Linked DNA regions of Homo sapiens: region 2 is linked to region 1. The links are contacts of gene promoters, found by promoter capture Hi-C in blood cells and fetal thymus (Javierre and others, 2016). All regions are on one chromosome and are shown on one strand. The core of a region is centred on a gene start or on the middle of the fragment in contact, and the rest is flanking DNA. Distances in the headings are between cores, read along the strand shown. Region 1 holds the start of XKRX (XK related X-linked). Region 2 has its middle 23 kb from the start of DRP2.

The links. The method cuts DNA at HindIII sites, captures the fragments that hold promoters and counts their contacts. A CHiCAGO score of 5 or more calls a contact.
Region 2: a fragment that was not itself captured here is called in contact with the fragment with the promoter of XKRX in region 1 in 7 of 17 cell types (total CD4 T cells, endothelial precursors, total B cells and 4 more); the score reaches 6.0 in total CD4 T cells.

What each region holds. Positions count from the first base shown.
Region 1 is chrX:100,926,937-100,931,936 of GRCh38, forward strand. It overlaps XKRX (XK related X-linked), which reads right to left and starts at 1,981. Exons shown (of 3, transcript NM_212559.3): 1 at 1,034-1,981. The coding sequence starts at 1,368. RefSeq lists enhancers at 185-1,384, 2,578-2,627. The HindIII fragment of the contact is 22,335 bases long and covers 1-5,000 here.
Region 2 is chrX:101,194,739-101,199,738 of GRCh38, forward strand. No RefSeq gene overlaps it. Among named protein-coding and RNA genes, the nearest start is that of DRP2, 23 kb to the right of the region's middle. The HindIII fragment of the contact is 2,811 bases long and covers 1,610-4,420 here.

The DNA of each region.
Region 1 (5,000 bases), core at 731-3,230:
ACAGATTACCACAGATGGTTTAAAATAGTTTCCAGATGTCACATTACTCTGGAAAATTTGAAAATGGCAGTAGCACCAGCCCAAGCAGCTCAGGGTAAAGAAACTTTTATCCAATTTACAAAGCATCCAAAAGGTAGAGTCAAAATTACACACTCAGACCAGGCGCGGTGGCTCACTTTGGGAGGCTGAGGCAGGAAGATCACTTGAGCCCAGTCTACATAACGAGATCCCGTCTCTACAAAAAAAATTTTTTTTTTTTTGAGATGGAGTCTCACTCTATCGCCCAGGCTGGAGTGCAGTGGCACCGATCTTGGCTCACTGCAACCTCTACCTTCCGGGTTCAAGTGATTCTCCTGCCTCAGCCACCAGAGTAGCTGGGATTACAGATATGCGCCACCACACCCAGCTGATTTTTAGTAGAGACAGGGGTTTCACCATGTTGGCCAGCTGGTCTTGAACTCCTGACCTCAGGTGATCCACCCGCCTCAGCCTCCCAAAGTGCTGGGATTACAGGCATGAGCCACCACACCCGGCCTATAAAAATTTTTTTTTAATTAACCAGGCATGGTGACACATTCCTTTGGTCCCAGCTACTTGGAGGCTGAGGTGGGAGGTTCGCTTGATCCCAGGAGATCAAGGCTGCAGTGAGCCATGATCGCACCACTGCACTGTAGCCTGGGAGGCAGAGCAAGACCTTGTCTCAGAAAAAAAAAATTTTTTAAATAAAATTACACACTCTGCAGCTATGGCCTTCATGCACAGGGTGATCACGTCTTGTTGTTCCCATTCTAGTTTACACAGGCCAAATAGCATCGTTCATTGTTTTGGAACACAAGTACATACCACATGTTCATCATGGTGGCATTTAAGATTTCAGGTAAGTTTTCTGAATGGTAGACAGGGAAGCCGAGAGTGGGAGGAAATGAGAGAATTGATTAGAGCCATAGTATCCATCTTGTAAATCTTTCATCTTTCTCTGCCCAAGTCTGGGGTGGGGTTAGGGGGGTAAGGAAAAGATTTAAAAGTTGCTCACCTGATAACAGGTCCCAAGAGGATTAGATGCATAAATAATGATAGCGGTTTATCTTTGGCTAGATCTCTGTGGACAAAAATGAGGGTCAACTGGACCATAATGGATGAAAACATAAAGAAAGAAAAGGTGTATGTCATCCAGTAAGTTTCACTATTCTTTCGATAGATTCTAACCATGTACAAAGCAGATGCAGCCTCCCCACAGTACAAAAAGGTGGAGAAAAGGATGCTAAATGGAAAAGTAAATCGGGGGTTGGCTCCACGGATGACATCTTCCTCCAGAGATGAAACCGGATCCACATTTGGCTCCTCAGGAATTTCATAAACTCTGTCCATTGTCGAGGTTCTTTCTGAATGTTGTGGTCTTGTGTTCATAGCACCCTCCCACCCATCCCCAAGAGAACCCTATGGCCGCTACAGTCCAAGTATAGGTGAGGAGAGCTCTGTCAAGTCCAGTTTGGGAACAGAGATTCACTAGTTAGAGCAAGAAACCGCTCTCTTCTAGACTCAGATTCGACTTGGAGTCTGGGATGGAAAGCCCAGGAGTACCACTTTGAACTTGACTCTTGATTGGCCCCGATTCCAATCGTCAACATACTTGCTGTGAAACTTGAACAAGACAAAAGCAAGCATCCCAGCGCCCCATCCAGAGTCCAACTCCAGGGACGTGAAGAGTCATGAGAACAGCGGCTTCCGTGGCGGCTCCTTTCGCAGCCCCTCAGGCAGGGTGTAGCCGATCTGTCGGGGGCACCGACACTCAGCAGCTCCTCACAAAGAGTCCTGACCAGTGTGTCCTCTCAAGTCAGCGGAGAGCTGAGCCAGGGCAGAAGAGCGGGCGCAGAAGAAGGAGGGCAGAAGAGGGGATTCAGTTCAGTGCCTAGGTATCCTAGCTATTGCTAGGCTGTAGCTATCAGCTGGCCCGCTCACCTGCGCGCTCTCAGGACCTTTGCCGAGTCCAGGGTTCTCAGGATAGCTCCTCGGATTCCCCCAAGCCCCGCCCCCAAGACCGCCTGGCCCGGGAGTGGAGTATTGTCACCACCCTGTCTCCGAATGCAGTGTTGAGGGACAGAAGCAGAGCGCGCTCGCTCTACAGGATGAAGAAAAGGCTGGAGGGGCTGCTTCTCCTCGGAGAAACTTTGCTAGTGAGAGGCACGATGTGCGGGGCGCCAACCTGGCTGGACGGAGGTCGCCAAACTCTTGGACGCCGTCTGCTGCCAGGGTCCTGCCTGGTCTGCGATTCCAGCTGCGAGAGGTCGGCAGCTTCAAAAACTAAGGCACCGGGACGGCGGGGGCGGGCGAGATGGGCGGGACGGCTGCGGCCAAACAAAACCAGCCGGAGAGTTCCCGGGCAGGCGGCCAGCCGAGGGATGCTCGTTGTGGAGTGGCGGGACAAAAAGGGGCTTGGGCCGCTCTTCAGAAGCACTTCTGACCACCACCTCCAGACCCAGGCAGGAGCCACAGCTTTACTCCTCCCTAGGAGCAGCAGGCCCCCACTTCTACCCCGCCCTCCCTAACTAGTTAAGTGACTTGCTTCAACACTCACTCTACCCACGCTGTTAGGCAGGTGTGTCTCCCTCCGCCGCAGGGTGGAACCTCCCTAGGTCCTATTGCCCTCCAGATAATATCATGAAGGGGGAACCTGGGAGGAATAGGGTCAGAGTTTTCGGCGGAGGGAAGATAGAACAGGATAAAGGTCAAGACTCAAGGTCAGCCCACAGACACTGAAAGCTCATATTTTATGCCTTGATTTCTCCACTTGCAAAATGAGGCCAGGATAGGAGCTTTAGAATGAACTTACAGGTCTTTGGTTGAAAGGTTATGAAGAGGTGCCAAATTCTAAACAGACTGGCAAAGAGCCAAGAGAGAGCTGTTAGTAAAAACTGAGAGGGGTGTCTTAAAGAGCTTTGAAAATTACCTGTATTCTTAAGTGTAATCCTCCCCACCTCACTGAGCTTTTGTTTTCATATCTTCATTTGCATAATTCTAAACCTCAGAGAAAAAGAGAACACATCTGCCTCCTGGTAATAATATAGATGAAGGCCAGGCACAGTGGTTCACGCCTGTAATCCCAGCACTTTGGGAGGCTGAGGCAGGCAGATCACTTGAGGTCAGGAGTTCGAAACCAGCCTGGCCAACGTGGTGAAACCCCATCTCTACTAAAAATACAAAAATCAGCTGGTCGTGGTGGTGCGTGACTGTAATCCCAGCTACTCAGGAGGCTGAGGCAGGAGAAAAACTTGAACCCGGACGGCAGAGGTTGCAGTGAGCTGAGATCACGCCACTGCACTCCAGCCTGGGCAACAGAGCAAGATTACGTCTTAATAATAATAATAATAATAATAATAATAATAATAATAATGATGATTATGTAGCAGAGCCTGTGCCAATCTCCTTTTGCTGCAGGAAGTCAGTAAAACAAATCTATGTGAGGAGTGGCCAAGTAGCAGCCACCAAAATAATGGCCTCCAGGTTGTCCTGTCATTATGTTGTTTTTTGTTTTTTTAAGGTTTCCATGATTGCTGCCTCCTTTCCCCAGGGCTGATTCAGGGACAGATTCAACATCTAAAGGTTGTCACCTTCTGAAGCAGACTCCGCATCTTGGTCTGCACCTATGCTAGCAGCTGGGCTAGGAGGCTGCTCCTTTCTCCTTTCCATTTCATGAAGGAGGTCAACACTATTGAGAACAACTTCAGAGAGTGTTCTTTTTCTTATTAGTTGGGACATTCCAACTGGGACAAGGTTCTCCACCACCAGTATATGGTGCAGAACCTCTTGGGGCTGCTCTAGGTAACTGTTCACAAGGTGAATCTCAGGCAAGGTGACCAATTAATCCCATTTCACTGGGATAGGGTGAGTTGGTCCCCCTAAACATGAGAGAGTCAGCCGGGCGCGGTAGCTCATGCCTGTAATCCCAGCATTTCGGGAGGCCAAGGTGGGTGAATGGCCTGAGATCAGGAGTTTGAGACCAGCCTGACCAACATGGTGAAATCCTGTCTCTACTAAAAATTCAAAAATTAGCTGGGCGTGGTGGTGGGCACCTGTAATCCCAGCTACTCGGGAGGCTGAGGCAGGACAACCCCTTGAACCCAGGAGGCAGAAGTTGCAGTGAGCCAAGATAGCACCATTGCACTCCAGCCTGGGTGACAAGAGTGAAACTCCATCTCAAAAAAATAAAAATTAAAAATAAAAAAAAAAAAAAACATGGGAGAGTAAAGCTAAGAAGAAGAATGTAGAATCCCAACGTTTACCTTTTAGCCTTTCCTCCTTCTTCTCCATGGCCTTGTCTCTCCCCAAATACAAAAATTTACAATGCCTTCCTACTTTGTTCCAAAATGACTCCTTCTGTCTGTCATTCAAGGCTCTATATAATCATCACACTACTTCCCTCTCAGATTTTATTGCCCACACTACTCCTTCCACAAGGCCAGCCAGTTTTCTCACTTCTCCTATTTGCGTTGCTCACTCCCACCTCTGCCTTGTTGATGCGATTTACAACCCCCTTCACCCTTTTCTCCATTAGTCCAAACCATAACTTTCTTTCAAGGGTCAGCCGAAGTGCTCCCACCTCCAAGAAGCCTTCTGTCACCTCCCCAACCCTCATTTTTCTCTCTTCATGCTACTGGCACATGCTCTCTCATACTAGTCCTTCAACTATTTCTGTGTTTGTCCTGCCTCCCCCCAAAAATGTAAAGTTAGTGAGGGAAGGATGCTCAATGACTGTTTATTGTGGCACTTGTTGATGACAATGGTGATTGACAAATGGTGATGATGATGACGCTTCCTCCCCCATACTTCCTCCTTGAAACCATGCAAGACTCAGACACACTCATCTCTAAAAGCTGTGGCCACTGTAGCTGGGGCATAAACTCCTCTGGCTGAATGAGCACTGTCTCATTCAGCCATCAGCTCACAGAGGTTCCCAGACCACATGATCTGTCCCTTCTCAAGGATTTCTATAGCATTCTTTT
Region 2 (5,000 bases), core at 1,765-4,264, 270 kb after region 1:
CTAATTTGGACGAACAGTAACTTGATTTCAATAGTATATGAAGATTTTGTTCTTTAGTAGCTCCATCCTAACCCTCCTTTGTGCTGTTGTTACCACAAATTATATGTATATACATTGGGTGCCTTTTAACACAGATTTATAAATCTCGTTTTATGCAGTTGCCTTTTAAATAAGGAGAGAAAAAGTGTTATAAACAAAAAATACGTTTGTACTGTATTTTATTTTATTATTAATTTTTGAGACAGAGTCTTACTCTGTCATCCAGGCTGGAGTGCAGTGGTGCAATCTCGGCTCACAACAGCATCAATCTCCTGGGTTTAAACGATCCTTCCACCTCATCCTCCCAAGTAGCTGGGACCACAGGCATGCACCACCACACCTGACTAACTTTTATATTTTTAGTAGAGATGGGGTTTCACCATGTTGAGCTGGCTGATCTCAAACTCCTGGCCTCAAGTGATCTGCCCGCCTTTGCCTCCCAAAGTGCTGAGATTACAGGCATGAGCCACGGTGCCCAGCCATACTTTCTTATTTATTTGTATCACTCATCATTTTTTGTTGAAAACTAGACTTTTGAATAATCTGATGTGGCAACTTTGGAAATCAGATGCTCTCTCTTTACCAAGGTTTATTGTTGTTTTGACTTGTTTTTACTAATGTGGGTGGGTGGTTGTTTTAGTGACTTCTCTGAACTAGTCTGTATTCTTTGTCATATGTGACCACTGAATTCTCTACTCAGCTATTTTAGAGATTAGTTCATGATTGGACAGAGCTTCTTAAATGCCCAGAACCAGCAAATCTCCTAGTCTTTGTCAAAGAACTCCGTGTGCATGTTGGGGTGTACTTTCAACAATCACCCAGGCCATTAACAACTCTGCCTTAGTGTTCACTTCCTGATTGTGCAAAGGCTCAAGGTCAGCCAAACATGACAGTGTGGGGCCTTCTTGAGTCTTTCCAGAGCATGTTTACAGTCCTATGCATGCTTATGCCCTTCTAGATCTTCTGAAAAATGTAGGAGGTTTTCAAAGTGCTTATAGATATATTCTTCCCCAATTTTTCTGTTTAAGATTTTTTATTAGTCTATTGTGTACCTTAACTGTTATTCACAGCCTTAGGCAGCTGCAAAGCTAAATCACTTGCCTGTATTTGTTTTTGGCAAATACTCCCCCTGGAGAAGGCTTTTTGCACTGTGTTATCTCTGAGCAAGTGGTATTTTCCAGGGAACCACCAGACATATATAACAATGACAGTTGTTTAGGAATGAGGCTTTGAATAAGCTCCCACCTCTTTCTGCTCCCTCACGTGTCAGGCTGCTGGTTTTCTTCATAAATGTGGACTGTAATTTTTTAAGGCTACTGCAGAGCTAGAGAGTGGGAGATGGAACTAGGACAAATTAAAATGACGTGAAGCTCACTTTTCTTACAGAGATTCAGGTGTTTTTCTTTAAAATACATTCCCCAGGTTGCTGCAAGCCTTTGGTTAATTTCCAGAGTTCTGAAAATGTTGATTCTGACTAGTTTTGGCTTCAAAAAAATTTTACGGAGGACTGAATTTGGGGGGCCGTTACTCTTCCATTTTCGCTAATATTGTCTCAATAATTCTTTTAAAAAGCTTGTTAATATAATTATATCTAAAAACATTAACAATACTGCCTTAATATATGTCTATTTTATGTTTCCCTGATTGTCTCAAAGTATTTTTATAACCATTTGTTTGATTCAGGTATTTTAAATGGTCCCCAGGTTACATTTGGTTGATATGTCTTTAATGCCTCATTTAATCTATAGGTTCTCCTTGTTCCTTTTTATTTTTGCAATTTTTTTGTTGAAGAAACTGGGTGTCTTCCTAAGTTTCCCACATTCTAGAGTTTGCTCATTCTATTCTCATGATATTGTTTAACATGCTCCTTTGTCCCTTTTTTCCCTACAGGTTTAATTAGAGTAGATCTTATCTTTTGATAAGAATATTTCATATATACTATTGTCTGTCATTCTCCTTATATTTTAAAGCTACATTTGGGTGCCCATATCAGGGCCCTACAACAAGTGGATTAGAATATAGAGGCTTAGGCTAGGCACAGTGGCTCACGCCTGTAATTCCAGCATGTTGGGAGGCCAAGGTGGGCGGATCACCTGAGGTCAGGAGTTCCAGACCAGCCTGGCCAACATGGTGAAACCCCGTCTCTACTAAAAATACAAAAATTAGCCAGGCGTGGTGGTGTGTGCCTGTAATCCCAGCTACTCGGGAGGCTGAGGCAGGAGAATCGCTTGAACCTGGGAGGTAGAGGTTGCAGTGAGCCGAGATCGCGCCACTGTACTCCAGCCTGGGTGACAGAGCGAGACTCCGTCTCAAAAAATAAATAAATAAATAATAAAGAAATTAAAAATAGAATATAGAGGCTTACCTATAATCTCTTCCTTCTGTGCACTCCCTTCTTCCCAAACAGATATACACTTATTCTCTCAGTAATGAAATACTTATTTCTAGGAATTGAAAAGTAACCTTTTTTTCCATTAAAATACTGGTTCTGTCAGTCTTAGATTACCACGACCATTATTAAAATCTTTATACTGCATTTTTTACTATTTAGTATTTTTAGATTTTTAAACCCCAAACCTAAACCTTTGTCAGCCTAATTGTACTGGAATTTTAAAAATAGTATCAAGCTGGGTGCACTGGCTCTTGCCTGTAATCCCAACACTTTGTGGGGCTGAGGTGAGAGGATCACTTGAGCCCAGGAGTTCAAAACTAGCCTAGGCAACGTAGCGAAACCCCATCTGTACAAAAAATTAAAAAATTACCAGGGTATGGTGGCACACACCTATAGTCCCAGCTACTCAGAAGGCTGACGAGGGAGGATTGCTTGAGCCTGGGAAGTTGAGGCTACAGTGAGCCATGACCATGCCACTGCACTCCAGCCTGGGTGACAGAGTGAGACCCTGTCTAAAAAAAAATATTGTCATGCATTATATCCAGTTCACATTCTAAGATATTGTGTGGATGCCTTTCATCCAGATTCTTCAGTGTGGCAGGCATTATTATAATAGTCTCATTTTACAGTTGAAGAAACTATAAGCTCTGAAAGATTGAATAATTCACACAAAGTCATTCATAATGGAGTCAGGTCTGCCTTTCAGATCTACTAACACCAGAGTCTATGGGTTTTTTTCATTACACCATTTTGAGAATAAAATCATATGGTATTGCAAGCTGCTCCTTGTACTCTTTCTTTTTTTTTTTTTTTTTTGAGATGGAGTCTCGCTCTGTCACCCAGGCTGGAGTGCAGTGGCACGATCTCGGCTCACTGCAACCTCCACCTCCCGGGTTCAAGTGACTCTCCTGCCTCAGCCTCCTGAGTAGCTGGGATTACAGGTGCCCGCCACCACGCCTGGCTAATTTTTGTATTTTTAGTAGAGATGGGGTTTCACCATGTTGGCCAGGCTGGTCTCGAACTCCTGACCTCCTGATCCGCCCGCCTTGGCCTCCCAAAGTGCTGGGATTACAGGCGTGAGCCACCGCATCCGGTCTCTTTTTTTTTTTTTTTGAGATGGAGTCTCACTCTGTCTCCCAGGCTGGAGTGCAGTGGTACAATCTCGGGTCACTGCAACCTCCACCTCCCGGGTTCAAGTGATTCTCCTGCCTCTGCCTCCCAAGTAGCTGGGATTACAGGCACGTGCCATCACACCCAGCTAATTTTTGTATTTTTATTAGAGACGGGGCTTCCCTATGTTAGCCAGGCTGGTCTCGAACTCCCAACCTCAGGTGATCTGCCCCCCTTGGCCTCCCAAAGTGCTGGGATTATAGACGTGAGCCACCACACCTGGTGCCTGGTACTCTCTTAAGAAAAATATCTCCTTTTTAAGATTATTAGTATCATAAGATCTAATACCTTGAAGCAGATAATATAGATACTGCAAGTATGGGCTATAATATAATAAATCACACTAGGGTGAGGAAAATTGAAAGGTTGTTCTCCACTTAATGCTTTAACATTACCAAATTAATGTTGTCTTCAATTACCACTTTCCCACACTAAAAATTAAAACTAATCACTATGTATAATTTAAACGTTTTGAATTATTGCCCTGAGCTTAATCTTAGTTTAAAACAATTGAAACACACCAGAACTTTCTTCAAAGAAAAATGTATTTGAAAACTCCTGGTAAAAATACTGATTCCTCTTTTAATGATAAAAGATAAAACACACTCTTATTGGAGCAGAGAATAATGACCACTTTTGTTTTATAAAACATGTGTTTCCCTCACCCCTAATTGAGTACACATGCTCCAGGAAAAAAATCAGGGCCAAATACTGCTAATAATGAAAGGGAAGAATATTAGGATCATAATTTAATTAGCTCTAAGGATCTCTTTGCTCATCGCGAAATAAAAGGATCAATGATCCCTTTGAGCACTTGAAAGCTTTTCCTGTCAATTAGCCATTGTGACTAGATTGGCTATTTAAAGGCATGCTTTTCAAACTGGGTATGAGTACTCCCAGGGAAATTAAAAACTGTATAAATATACACACAATCACAGAGTGAGGAATGGCATTTTTTACTCAGATTATTTGCCAAAAACAAAGTATCCTGAATTGGGTCAGAGCAAATCTTCTGAAGAATATATGATGTCTGTATGGCATAAACTAATATCTGGGAGTAGGAAGAAAATTCTCTCTTCTGCTTTATTATACTTGGATACCACATCCAAAGCAAAAAATCTAAGCAAAAGAAAAGCAAAATAATCTGTTTAGAGGAAGATTTAATCAATTTGAGAGAGAAGCAATTATTTTACTTATCTAATTTGAATGCTGGGATAACATACTTTTTTCTTGAAGTGTTCAGTGGGACCATTAACCATTTTTTTTTCTTTTTTAAATTGATATTGTCTTTTTAAATATTTTTCTTCTTTTCTTTCTTCCTTTCTTTTTTTTTTTTTTTTTTTTTGAGATAAAGTCTTGTTATATTGTCCAGGCTGCTCTTGCACTCTTGGGCTTAAGC